Linked DNA regions of Homo sapiens: all the other regions are linked to region 1. Evidence: promoter capture Hi-C in human tissues and cell types (Jung and others, 2019). All regions are on one chromosome and are shown on one strand. The core of a region is centred on a gene start or on the middle of the fragment in contact, and the rest is flanking DNA. Distances in the headings are between cores, read along the strand shown. Region 1 holds the start of ICAM2 (intercellular adhesion molecule 2). Region 2 overlaps STRADA (STE20 related adaptor alpha). Region 3 holds the start of STRADA (STE20 related adaptor alpha).

Region 1 (4,482 bases), core at 673-3,172:
CTCTTTTTTTTTTTTTTTTTTTTTTTTTTGAGACGGGGTCTCGTTGTGTCGCCCAGGCTGGAGTGCAGTGGCGCGATCTTGGCTTACTGCAACCTCCACCTCCCGGGTTCGAGCTATTCTCCTGCCTCAGTCTCCCGAATAGCTGAAACTACAGGCGTACGCCACCACACCCAGCTAATTTTTGTATTTTTAGTAGAGATGGGGTTTCATCTTGTTGGCCAGGACCGTCTCTATCTCTTGACCTCATGATCCTCCTGCCTTGGCCTCCCAAAGTGCTGGGATTACAGGCATGAGCCACTGCTCCCGGCCTTACTTCTCACTATCTGTGTGACCTTGAGCAAATCACTTAATCTTTCTGTGCCTCAATTTCCTCATCTGCAAAAAGGAATCAATAATAGTATCTTCCTCATAGGGTTTTTGTGCAGATTAAACAAATAAAATAAGTAAATATTTTAAAGCATTTAGAACAGTGCCTAGCACACAGTAACGCTATATAACTGTTTCATAAAATAAAAATAAATAGGCATAGCCAGGTGCAGCAGTTCAAGACTGTAGTCCCAACTAATCAGGAGGCTGAGGTGGGAAGATCACTGGATCCCAGGAGTTCGAGGTTGTAGTGTGCTATGATCATGCCTGTGAATAGCCACTGCACTCCAGCCTGGGAAATATAGTGTGACCCCATCTCAGTAAATAAATAAATAAATAAATAAATAGAGATGCATATGTAATAAAGCACTTAAAAATAAGAGAACAATAAACACAAAATTCCAGAGGGTGGCTACCTGTGGGTGGGAGGCAAGTAGCATAAAAGTGGACAAGTGGTGGCCAGGTGTGGTGGCTCACGCCTGTAATCCCAGCATTTTGGGAGGCCGAGGTGGGCGGATCATGAGGTCAAGAGATCGAGACTCTCCTGGCCAACATAGTGAAACCCTGTCGCTACCAAAAACACAAAAATTAGCTGGGCATGGTGGCATGCGCACCTGTAGTCCCAGCTACTTGGGAGGCTGAGACAAGAGAATCGCTTGAACCCAGCAGGCGAAGGTTGTGGTGAGCCAAGATTGTGCCACTGCACTCCAGCCTGGGCGACAAGAATGAAAACTCTGTCTCAAAAAAAAAAAAAAAAAAAAAAAGCAGATAAGTGGTGTTTGCAGTTTGGTGATACTCCATCCTTGTGCTGAGTGGCAGCTTCAGGTGTGTTTGGTATATTACTGTGCAGTATGATGTATATGTATGTTACATAAGCTTTTTATGCGTTACCTAGTAAATTTTACAAAAATAATAAAAGGGAAAAAGGGCCTTTCTACGTGCCTAGAAAGAAGAGGCTTCATGGGAATGTGAGCCATGGGTTAGGAAAGACCCCCTCGAACCGAGGCAGGTAGGAAGTGAGTGACTGAGATTCATTATGAACCCACCACGCCTGCCGGGGAGAACAGGGACTGTCCCTTCCCCTCTGCATCAGCTCAGATGGTCCAGATCACAGCCCACGTGGGCCCCTAAATAAGGAGGCAGCCCCACATTTCTACATCGGCCACCGAGATGGCAGAGCAGAGGAAGGAGAGAGGGGAGACAAATCAGGAAAGGAGCGCCAGGGCAAGTGCGTGAGCTCAGAGACCCAGCAGGGCAGGGCAGGAGCTTCACAGAGTGCAGAATGTCGAGCCACAGGAGCGCTGGGGATTCCCCAACCCCTGCACTTACCAGCGAGAAACTGAGACCCAGAGAGGGGAACGGACTAAAACTCAGACCTCGACACTGCCAAAATCCTTCCCATGCTGCCACGCTTCATTGGAGGGAAAGTGAGAAGCTCAACCTTACCCCTGTGGGCTCCAAGAAGGGTAGCTCTGGGATCCCGGGCAGGAAATTGGTGACAAGGTGACAAGGTGCGCGTGTCACAGCTGCCCAGTTCACGGCTTATTCAGTCTTCTCCCTCCCCCCACTCCCCACCAGAAGTGACGTGCTTCCTGTGCCCCGGTTCCCACCCTAAACTAGCCTCATTTAGCTCCACTCCCATTCCGCTTTTTTTTTTTTTAATTGTGGTAAAACGTACACAACAGAATTTACCATTTCAATTTTTTTTTTTTTTTTAGACTGAGTCTCAGTCACCCAGGCTGGAGTGCAGTGGTGTGATCTCGGCTCACTGCAACCTCTGCCTCCCGAGTTCACGTGATTCTTGTGCCTCAGCCCGCAGAGTAACCGGGACCACAGGCACCTGCCACCACGCCTGGCTAATTTTTGTATTTTTAGTAGAGACAGGGTTTCACCATGTTGGCCAGGCTGGTCTCGAACTCCTGACCTCAAGTGAACTGCCTTCCTCGGCCTCCTAAAGTGCTAGGATTACAGGCAAGAGCCACTGCGTCCAGCCAATTTTTTGTTGTGTTGTTTTTAAGACAGAGTCTTGCTTTTGTCACCTAGGCTGGAGTGCAGTGGCACAATCACAGTTCGTGGCAACCTCTGACCCCTGAGCTCAAGTGACCCTCCCTCCTCAACTTCCCAAGTGACTGGGACTACAAGTGTGCAGCCACCAGGCTTGGCTAATTTCTGTAGTTTTTGTAGAGACAGAGTGTTGCTTATGTTGCCCAGCCTGGTCTCAAACTCTTGAGCTCAAGCAATCCTCCCACCTCAGCCTCCCAAATGCTGGGAATGAGCCACCGTGCTAGGCCCATTTTAATTATGTTTAAGTGTACAGTTTGGGGCACTAAGTACATTCACATTGTTCTGCAACCATCACCACCATCCATCTCTGGAGCTCTCTCTTTCTCTTTTCTTTCTTTTTTTTTTTTTGAGATGGAGTTTCGCTCTGTTGCCCAGGCTGGAGTGCAGTGGTGTGATCTTGGCTCACTGTAACCTCTGCCTCCCAGGTTCAAACGATTCTCTTGCCTCAGTGTTTTTGTTGTTGTTGTTGTTGTTTGTTTGTTTGTTTGTTTTGTAGAGATGGAGCCTCACTCTGTCGCCCAGGCTGGAGTGCTGGAGTGCAGTGGTGTGATCTCGGCTCACTGCAACCTCCGCCTCCCGAGTTCAAGCAATTCTCCTGCCTCAGCCTCCTGAGTAGCTGGGACTACAGGTGCACGCCACCACGCCTGGTTAATTTCTTTTGTATTTTAGCAGAGATGGGGTTTCACCATGTTGCCTAGGCTGGTCTCAAACTCTTGAGCTCAGGCAATCCGCCCGCCTTGGCCTCCCAAAGTGTTGGGATTACAGGCATGAGCCACCGTGCCTGGCCTTGCCTCAGCCTCTTGAGTAGCTGGGATTACAGGCACGTGCCGACTGGCTAATTTTTGTATTTTTAGTAGAGATGGGGTTTCATCATGTCGGCCAGGCTGGTCTCGAACTCCTGACCTCAAATGATCCGCCCACCTCAGCCTCCCAAAGTGCTGGTATTACAGGCATGAACCACCACGCTTGGCCAGAACTGCCTTCCTTTTGAAGGCTGAGCAATATCCTATTGTGCGTGTGTGCCGCATTCTGTTCATGCATTCATATACTGATGGACACCTGTGTTGCTTCCACCTTTGGCTATTGTGAATAGTGCTGCTACAAACAGGGTTGTACAAATACCTGCTCAAGACTCTGCTTTCAGTTCTCTGGGGTATGTACCCAGAAGTGGAAATGCTGGATCATAATGGTAAAATATACACAACAAAATCTACCATCTTAACCTTTTTTCTTTTTTTTTTTTAGTGGTAATTCTGACTGGGCTTGGTGGCTCACACTTGTAAATCCGGCACTTTGGGAGGCTGAGGTGGGAGGATTGCTTGAGTCTAGGACTTCAAGACCAGCCTGGGTGACAAAGTGAGACCCCATCGCTACAAAAAAAAAAAAAAGTAATTTTGTTTAATTTTTGAAGATTTGCCATCCTGTTTTCCTTACTCCTCCCTTTGATGTGCAGTTTCTGTACTCACTGGGGCCTTCTGTGAATGAGGCAGTTCCAGGACAAGCTACCTTCTGGTCCCCCAAGTGAGGCAGGCGAAGATCACAGAGCTGAGGCTTCCTTGGCTGTGACACACCATTCCAAAAAAGCCTCTTATTAGTGACTAAGACCTATCACTTCATCAAATCTTATCAGACCTGCCACCTTGCCTAGCAATTTTACAACAATTACTCTAGAAGAGTGACTTTGTACAAACAAGCAGAAAGTATGAACACTGGGTGCAGAGGTGGGTGGCGGGCAGCCAGCTAGGCTCACCCACGAGCAGAGGATCTTGCTCCCACGGGCCAGCCTCACAGCACATTGAAACTTCTGGCTTAGCAAAGTCACAAATTAGACCATTCAGAGGCCAGGAGGACAGTCAAGGCCACACATTGCTCTGGCGCAATTTCTCTTGGTGCTTGTGTGCATCAATTTCTTCAGCTCAGTTCTTTTTGGAATCTCCTTGTCATACTGCTGGCAAAACAGAGCCAATATAAAATGACTATGGTGGGAAGGAGGCAGCAGGGCCCAGAGCTTTGAAGGGCCCACGTGACTTTAATGTTTTGGTGGCATCTGTC
Region 2 (4,482 bases), core at 1,443-3,942, 310 kb before region 1:
TACTGTGTTCCGCATCCCATTCTTCCTTTTTCACTCAGGGCTGTAGTTTCCAGACACATCTGTATTGCTAGCTGTGTACCTTTCATCTTTTCTTCTAATTGTCACCTTGGTTCTGGGAAGAGATCTAACACTTTTACTCATCCATCCTTCTGGGGACAGACACTCACACTACCCCTAACCAACACACGTGTGAATGGTGACATCCAAACATGTCCCCTGATGGGTCTGCACGAGGGTTTCTTTAGGGTGTACATCCAGAAGTGGCATTGATGGTTCTGGTTCTGTGACCCTGACTGGCAGCACCGGGCATCTTCCACCACCTGGACAGGAGGCTCCCCGTCCTTGCCACACTGGGACTCGTCCAGCCTCCCAACCGCTGCCAGTCTCATGTGTATAAGGTGACATCTTGTTTTTCATTTGCTTTTCTCTGATTGCGAGATTTGAGTGGCTCTTCCTATGATGGGTTTGTCTTGGGGTTTCCTCTTTTGTAAACTTCATATCTTTGGCCCATTTTTCTTGCTTTGCTGTCCATTTCTTGTTGATTTGCAAGATTTCCCTGTTACTAATCTCCTGTGGTGACAAAGCTAATATCATCTGCTCTGTCACTTGTTTCTTAACCTTTTTCATGGTATCTTGTATTGGATAGAAATCTTCTTGATCTAATCAAATTCATCAATCTTTTGTCTTATGTTTTGTGCTTCTAAAATGTTGAGAAATTATTACATGCCTCAGGTCACAAAAACATTTTCTCACATTTCCTTCTATTTAAGTCTACAGTTTCACATTTTACATAGAAGCCTTTAATCCAGCTGCAGTCCTTCTCTGTATGAGGAGTTATGTAGGGGTCCAGTTTTACCATTTTCCCTACTATGAGCTGATTTCCTGACACTATCTACTAAGCTATCTGTCTTCGCCCTGGTCTCTCAGCATAAGACTGACTCTGGGGCACAGAAAGAAGGAGGCAGAGAGTGGAGTACAAAGGTCCACATCAGATGTTCCTCTCACACAACACTCAAGACCAAGCTGCTCAGCAAAGAGAAAGTCAGTGGCTTCAGCACTAACAGGCTAAGTGACCATCTCCCAAGTCAGTGGCAAGGTCAGAATCCAGATCCTTCTCTCTTTTTTTTTTTTTTTTTTTCAGACAAGAGTCTCACTCTGCCACCCAGGCTGGAGTGCAGTGGTGTGATCTCCAGTCACTGCAACCTCCGCCTCCCAGGTTCAAGCGATTCTCCTGCCTCAGCTTGTAGTCCCAGCTACTGGGACTACAAGCATGTGCCACCACACCCGGCTAATTTTTGTATTTTTAGTAGAGACAGGGTTTCACTATGTTGGCCAGGCTGGTCTCAAACTCCTGACCTTGTGATCCACCTGCCTTGGCCTCCCAAGCGCTGTGATTACAGGCGTGAGCCATCGCGCTGGGCCCTGTTTCTTTTCAGAGCAAAGAGATCTTCAGCAAGAATCCAGATCCTTGATTTTAAACTCTGGCTTCATTAACTTCAGTCAAACTTCACTTTACCTGAAGGCTCAGGGGCATAGCTACCCACTGTAATCATGGGAAAGGCCGCCTAAGAACGCACCTGTGTACATATCCCATGTGGTGGATGTAGTCGAGGGCCTTCAGCACCCCCTGCAGGATGTAAGCAATCGCCAGCTCATTCATGCCATCCATGAAGTGTGTACAGATGAGATCTTTTGCAGAACCTGCAGAAAAGGATTGCATGGAGGCAGTGAAAGGTAATGGAGGAGGAAAACACAGGCAATCTGACAACAGAGTCCCAATAACCCCTTTCTACCAAGAACCCTTTCCCACTCACCGTATGCCATGAATGATGTGACAACCCACAGCTCATTGTCTGCAATAAAAGTGGCTCGATATGGCACGATATTGGGATGGTTGAAGAGTTTGGAGACATGCAGCTCGCCCTGGAAGCAATGATGAAGCTGAAGTCAGAACCAAATGGCACTGAAGGATGCCGCTCAACACAAAGATGGCAGCATGGACAATAGGGGGACCTGGCACTTTCTGGGTGTTCTCAGAGTCATGGGAACAGCCTAAGCAGGTGCCTGCCAACATAGGAAAAACAAGGCCCTGCTGCCTCTGCAGGGACCCAGCACTGCTTTGCCTCTGCCAGATAGGGAAACTGCCAACAACAAAGGGTGCCAGCACACCGACTCAGAGATGATGAAGGCAAACTGTTGACTGAAGACTTCTGAAGTTATAAGCTTATCTCAATTTCAAGGGCCAACGTATAGAATTCCTCTTTAAGATAAGAAAACAAAAAATATTTTGTTGTTGTTATTTGTAGAGACAAGGTCTCACTGTGTTGCCCAGGCTGGTCTCAAACTCCTGGGCTCAAGCAGTCCTTCTGCCTCAGCCTCCCAAAGTGCTAGGATTATAGGCGTGAGCCACCAAGCCACTGCACCTGGCCAAAAATGTTTTCTTTTTTATTTTTTTGAGACAGGGTCTTGCTCTGTCACCCAGGCTGGAGTGCAGTGGTGTGATCCCGTCTCACTGCAGCCTGAACTTCCCAGGCTCAAGTCATCCTCCCACCTCAGCCTCGCTGGTAGCTGCGACCACAGGTGGACGTCAACATACCTAGCTAATTTTTTATATTTTTTTGTAGAGACAGGGTTTTGCCATGTTGCCTAGGCCTGCTTTGGCCTCCCAAAGTGCTGGGATTGCAGGCGTGAGCCACTGTGCCCAGCCCAAAACTATGTTTCTATTATAAAAGAAAACATGGCCGGGCATGGTGGCTCACGCCTGTAATCCCAGCACTTTGGGAGGCGAGGCAGGCAGATCACTTGAGCCCAAGAGTTGGAGACCAGCCTGGGCAACATGGCGAAACCCCATCTATATGAAACATACAAAAAATTAGTTGAGCATGGTGGTGCATGCCTTTAGTCCCAGCTACTCGGGAAGCTTAAGTGGTAGAATCACCTGTGCCTGAGCAGTTGAGGCTGTGGTGAGCTGTGATTGCACCACCGCACTCCAGCCTGAGCAACAGAGCCAGACCTTGTCTCAAATAAAGAAAAAAAAAAGAAAAAGAAAACACAGTTGATGGAGGAGAAGGCCAGCTGAGACTGGCTTCTGCTCCATCCTCAGACCCACCAAACTACTATGAACAGATGAACAGGTCCTAGAGCACCATCAGGTAACCACCAATTCAGAAAAAGTTGTAAATGAAGGAGGGGAGGGGCTGCAACTAACTCTACTGAAGGAAAACTGCCCCAGGCCCTGACTCTAAGCTGGCATCAGGAAAGGAGAGTCTAACTCCCAAGCACTTACTAGACTCACAGTCTCTCTCCGTTTTGTTTTGTTTTATTTTTTGAGCCAGGGACTCAGTCTGTCACCCAGGCTGGAGTTTGGTAGTGCAATCTCAAACTCCCGGGCTCAAGCAATCTCCCTGCCTTGCCCTCCCAAAGTGTTGGGATTACAGGCATGAGCTACCATGCCTGCCCCCTCTCTCAGTTTAACGAGAGAGTGGCTACTTGCTTCTCGAATAGAAAGGAATGTCAGGACTGGGCATAGTGGCTCACACCTGTAATCCTAGCATTTTGGGAGACTGAGGTGAGTTGATTGCTCGAGCTCAGGAGTTTGAGACCAGCCTGGGCAAGATGGTGAAACTCTGTCTCTACAAAAAATACAAAAATTAGTCAGGTGTGGTGTGCCTATAGTCCCAGCTACTTGGGGGGCTGAGGCAGGAGAATCATTTGAGCCCAGGAGGTTAAGGCTGCAGTAAGCCGTGGTCCTGCCACTGTACTCCAGCCAGGGCAATAAAATGAGACCCTGTCTCGAAAAAAAAGAGGCCAGATGCGGTGGCTCACATTTGTAATCACAGCACTTTGGGAGACCAAGGCAGGCAGATCACCTGAAGTCAGGAGTTTGAGACCAGCCTGGCCAACATGAAGAAACCCCGTCTTTTCTAAAAATACAAAAGTTAGCCGGGCATGGTGGTGTGCGCCTATAGTCCCAGCTACTCGGGAGGCTAAGGCAGGAGAATCGCTTGAACCTGGGAGGTGGGGGTTGCAGTGAGCCGAGATCGTGCCACTGCACTCCAGCCTGGGTGACAGAGTGAGAATCCGTCTCAAAAAAAAAAAAAAAGAAAAGAAAAAGAAAGGAACATCAGGCAAACAGGAGGCTGAGAGCCAGAAGATGGCCACTGGTGGCAGGGCAGGCACCTTGTGTCTGGAACAAGATGGCCTGGGTTTGAATCCTGCCTCTGCCATGAGCAAGTTACTTAGCTTCTTTCTAAATAATAAATAAATGAATAAAAAAGCCAGAAGGGAGTGTTTGGAGAAGAAAAGGGAAATATAAATTAGGCTGAGCAGCATTTCAGCCCAATCCTTAGTGCCAAATGGCCAGGATTCTCCACTGAAAGCTTCCATAACTTCCGAACGTTTAGTCTCCCTTCATTTCTTTGTAATTCCTTGTAATTCCTATCAGAGCCAAGAGCCCACCCTCCCTCCATGTGACACACTCAT
Region 3 (4,482 bases), core at 1,228-3,727, 280 kb before region 1:
GTGATTAGCAGTAAATGGTATACAAATTATGAAGGACTTTTCTATTTTCAGATTGAATCATGTACAGATGAACTTGCCCAGGCTGGTCTCAAACTCCTGAACTCAAGCAATCCTCCTGCATCAGCCTCCCAAAGTGCTAGGATTACACCATGCCCGGTTATCTGTATGACATTAACATCATCACTCTGCTCCCTTCAAATTTCCTTAAAATGCAAATGTAAATGTCCTTAAAATGTAAATTCTAATGGAAGGGGAGGGCAGATGGATATCATTCGAAAGATATATCCACACTTATCAAAAATTAAGAAATACATATGTATGTGTATATTATATATTATGCATATATGTATATATTATATATGTACATAGTGTATTAATATGTATACATATATAATTTTATGTGTATATATTATGTATACATATTGATACATTATATATTTATGTATATATGTACATATATACATATAATGTACATAATTATATGTATATACATATAATGTACATAATTATATGTATATACATATAATGTACATAATTATATGGCCCGGGACGGCTGCTCCGACGAAGGCCCGGGCCTGGGGAGATGGAATCGGTGGCAGAGCGAGGAGTGACTGGCTCCGGCAGTGCACCAGGCACCCCGCCAGGCAGGTACCTGTTCCTGGTTTCAAACTCCGGAGCTCAAGCAATCCTACTGCCTCAGTCTCTCAAAGTGCTGGGATTACAGAGGTGGGCCACGGTACCCAGCCTATCAGAAACATTTAACACTATATATATATATATATATATACATACATACATATATATATACACATACATATATATATATACACACACACACACACACACACACACACACACACACAACAAAGCAATATTACTAGTGGACAGACATAGAAATAGCTTTATTGGCCGGGCGCGGTGGCTCACGCCTGTAATCCCAGCACTTTGGGAGGTCGAGGCTGGTGGATCACCTGAGGTCAGGACCTCAGAGATCGGCCTGACCAACATGGTGAAACCCCGTCTCTACTGAAAATACAAAAATTAACCAGGTGTGGTGGGGGGTGCCTGTAATGCCAGCTACTCGGAAGGCTGAGGCAGGATAACTGCTTGTACCAAGGAGGCCGAGGTTGCAGTGAGCGGAGATCGCGCCATTGCATTCCAGCCTGGGGGACGAGGGCGAAACTCCATCTCAAAAAAATTAAAATAAAAATAAAGAGAGAAAATAATAAACCCAGCAAACATTTATGGCAAACTTCCTACGTGTCAGGCACTGTGCTAAATGCTTCATGAGCAGCTCACAAGTATTATCATCTCTGTTTTACGGATCAGGAAATTCAGGTGTGCAGGGAGGTTAAATGCCCAAAGTCACACAGATAAGTGGTAGGGGACTAATTAAATCTGTTCCAAAGCCTGCGCTCTAAAAACCAGAGTAAACTTCCTCCATTTCTGGGGCCACAACTATAAACACTGCATTCCAGCCAAAACACCTCTAAGAAATCTGATTAAAAAGTAGGGGACAGATTTGACCAGTTCAGCACTGTAACTAAAGGCTGAATTCACAGGCTTTTGGCAGGTGATCAAATTTGGTTTCTTCCTTAACTCTCAGGGACAAGAAACAGTCCTGGGTGTCTTCAGGAAGGTATGAGTGTCAATGAAGAATTGTCTTAACGTCGCATATACGTATTGGAACATGCTTCTACTTGAACAGATATTACAATAAGAAAAGGGCAAATTCCAACGGCTCTTTCTCCGGGAAAGTCAAGTTAAAGTATGTTAGGATACAGGAGAAGGCTGGGCAGAGAGGTTAGTTCCCTATTTCCTGAGAACTATGAACAATTTTACCTACCCACTGCCCCTCCCTCGAGCTCTCTTCCTTATCCCCAACCCCCATCTCCGGCGCCCAAATCCCCTGCAGGCACCCAAAAAACATTTCTGGAAAACAAAAAGACAATGAGCTCTTCGTTTAGGCCGATTCTGGGAGTCATCTGGATCTTGTGTCCTTACGAGGACTTGACCCGCTGCCTGTCAGCCCAAAGTGCGCGGCGGCTGGGGACAGCGGGGAGCCCAGGACCGGGGTCGGCCGCCACTCTGCCTGAACAGGACAAACCGGCACCCAGCCCTAGGTTCCCCACCTGGAAGTCCTAGGGGGTGGGGAGGAAGGGGAAAGCAGGAGCCCGCCTCTCTCGCCCGGCAACTCCGCTTCAGCGTCTCCCCGCCAGGCCCAAGCCTATTCTGCTCTCGGGCTGCGGCGCCTCATTGCGGGAGTCGAGGACGCGGGTTAAAAAGGGGGCCCGTGGAGGGTGAGGTGAGCCCAGGATGGCCGCTCCGACGAAGGCCCGGGCCTGGGGAGATGGAATCGGTGGCAGAGCCAGGAGGGACTGGCCCCGGCAGCGTACCAGGCACCCCGCCAGGCAGGTACCTGTTCCTGGAGTTAGCAAGCAGCCCCGACCGTCTTGGCTCCGCCTCCTCAGTTTTACTGCCGCGCCGCCGCCAGACCGGTTGCTGGGAGGGGAGTACGCAACGTGCCATGCGCAGTGGGGCGACCGGGAGGACTGATAGAGCGCTCCGCCCCACCCCGCCCTGCGGGGAAGTCCCGCCCTTTCCGAGTGGCCGCGGCTGCGGCAGGCCCTAGCAGCCGCCGCCGCGCCGAGAGCGGTTCTCAGTTCCCGTTGTCTTTCCCGCCGCGCAGCGCTTCCGCCTACAGCCTCCGCCCCCGCAGCAGGAGGGGGAAGCAGGTGGCTTCAACAATGAAGGACCAGAGAAAGGCAAACTTGGCTGTTCCTGAGAATTGTGTTTTTCTCATTTCATGTGGTAGGACTTCTAATGGAAAACCCGCCTCGCACTTTTCTTGGACGACATCTCAAATGCCCCTCACTTTGGCCTCTCGGGCACCAGACAACAAGCTGCAAAGGGGAAGCCCATCCTTTCTTTGCTCCCCACTATTTGTAAAACAAGGAAAATAGCTCAACTAATGAAAACGATCTTGTCCCCTCAGTATCTTTTTTTTTCCCCCGAAGCCTTCCTCATCCACAGCTGAAGCCGTTTGTGGAAACCTATCAGGTTTGTCCAAGCCAGGTTATGCAGAGCTTGAGAAATGAGGAAGCGATGAACTAAGCCTCACTCCTGTGAGACTAGGTTTTTCAGTGACTTATCCCCCGCGTGCGCAGGAGGGGGTATCCAAAACGCGGATATATACCATCAGGTAATGAACACTCGCTCTTGCCAGCTCTGAGCTTTGACACAGATTTAGACCGTCCTAACTTCCAAGACTGGGGGAGGAGTTTAGCTACATCCAAGTAGGGACTTATAGAAATATGCCCCTGGAAGGCCGGGCGCGGTGGCTCACGCCTGTAATCCCAGCACTTTGGGAGGCCGACGCGGGTGGTTCACTAGGTCAGGAGATCGAGACCATCCTGGTTAATACGGCGAAACCCCGTCTCTACTAAAAGTACAAAAAAATTAGCCGGGCGTGGTGACAGGCGCCCGTAATCCCAGCTACTATGGAGGCTGAGGCAGCAGAATGGCCTGAACCCGGGAGGCGGAGCTTGCAGTGTGCAGAGATCGCGTCACTGCACTTCCAGCCTGGGCGACAGAGCGAGACTCCGTCTCAAAAAAAAAAAAAAAAAAAAAGAAAAAAAGAAATATGCCCCTGAAACTGTGGGACCTGTATGCACATGAGTTCTCATTTGATCTTACATACATCACTTTGATTTTTTTTTTTTTTTTTTTTGAGATGGAGTCTTGCTCTGTTGCCCAGGCTGGAATGCAGTGACGTGATCTGGGCTCACTGCAACCTCTGCCTCCTGGGCTCAAGCAATTCTCCTGACTCAGCCTCCCAAGTCGCTGGGACTACAGGCGCACGCCACAACGCCTGGCTGATTTTTGTATTTTTAGTAGAGACGAGGTTTCACCATATTGGTCAGGCTGGTCTTAAAATCCTGACCTCAGGTGATCCACCAGCCTCGGCCTCCCAAAGTGCTGGGATTACAGGTGTGAGCCATCTGTGCTGGGCCACATCATTTTGATTTTATCGAGTGCTTTGACATTGCTAAGGGCTACCCTCACATGCTCTCATTCTCAAAATAAGATGCCACTCTCAGGAGCAAACTTGGTAAACTCACAAAGCAACAGAGTATAAACAGAGAAGTAAAATTTCTAGCAGTGTTCTACTGAAGGGTCTTTCACATGTGGTCTTTTGGAACCGAGTATTAGAGAGACTGTCTGAAAAGATGCTAAACTTCTTGCAGCCATTACAAATGGGTAGAGAAAACATATTGTCTCAGAACTGTTCTGTTTTAGCAGTCTGTAACAGAAGACACTCCTATGGGTATAACTCTTTTTTTTTTTTTTTTTTTGAGACGGAAGTCTTGCTCTATTGCCCAGGCTGGAGTGCAGTGGTGCAATCTTGGTTCACTGCAACCTCTGCCTCCTGGGTTCAAGCGATTCTCCTGCCTCAGCCTCCTGAGTAGCTAGGATTACAGG

The links. Contacts are between HindIII fragments. The study calls those that stand out against the background at their distance.
Region 2: a fragment that was not itself captured here is called in contact with the fragment with the promoter of ICAM2 in region 1 in 1 of the 25 tissues and cell types used here (psoas muscle).
Region 3: the fragment with the promoter of STRADA here is called in contact with the fragment with the promoter of ICAM2 in region 1 in 1 of the 25 tissues and cell types used here (IMR-90 fibroblasts).

The regions. Positions count from the first base shown.
Region 1 is chr17:64,018,711-64,023,192 of GRCh38, forward strand. It overlaps ICAM2 (intercellular adhesion molecule 2), which reads right to left and starts at 1,923. Exons shown (of 5, transcript NM_001099789.2): 1 at 1,813-1,923. RefSeq lists enhancers at 1,543-1,662, 1,757-2,257, 2,003-2,092, 2,313-2,362. The HindIII fragment of the contact is 6,467 bases long and covers 1-4,482 here.
Region 2 is chr17:63,708,914-63,713,395 of GRCh38, forward strand. It overlaps STRADA (STE20 related adaptor alpha), which reads right to left. Exons shown (of 13, transcript NM_001003787.4): 7 at 1,815-1,923; 8 at 1,578-1,701. Among named protein-coding and RNA genes, the nearest start is that of LIMD2, 11 kb to the left of the region's middle. RefSeq lists a silencer at 1,416-1,710. The HindIII fragment of the contact is 3,518 bases long and covers 934-4,451 here.
Region 3 is chr17:63,739,322-63,743,803 of GRCh38, forward strand. It overlaps STRADA (STE20 related adaptor alpha), which reads right to left and starts at 2,478. Exons shown (of 13, transcript NM_001003787.4): 1 at 2,420-2,478. RefSeq lists an enhancer at 604-1,103 and silencers at 969-1,137, 2,641-2,760. The HindIII fragment of the contact is 12,282 bases long and covers 1-4,482 here.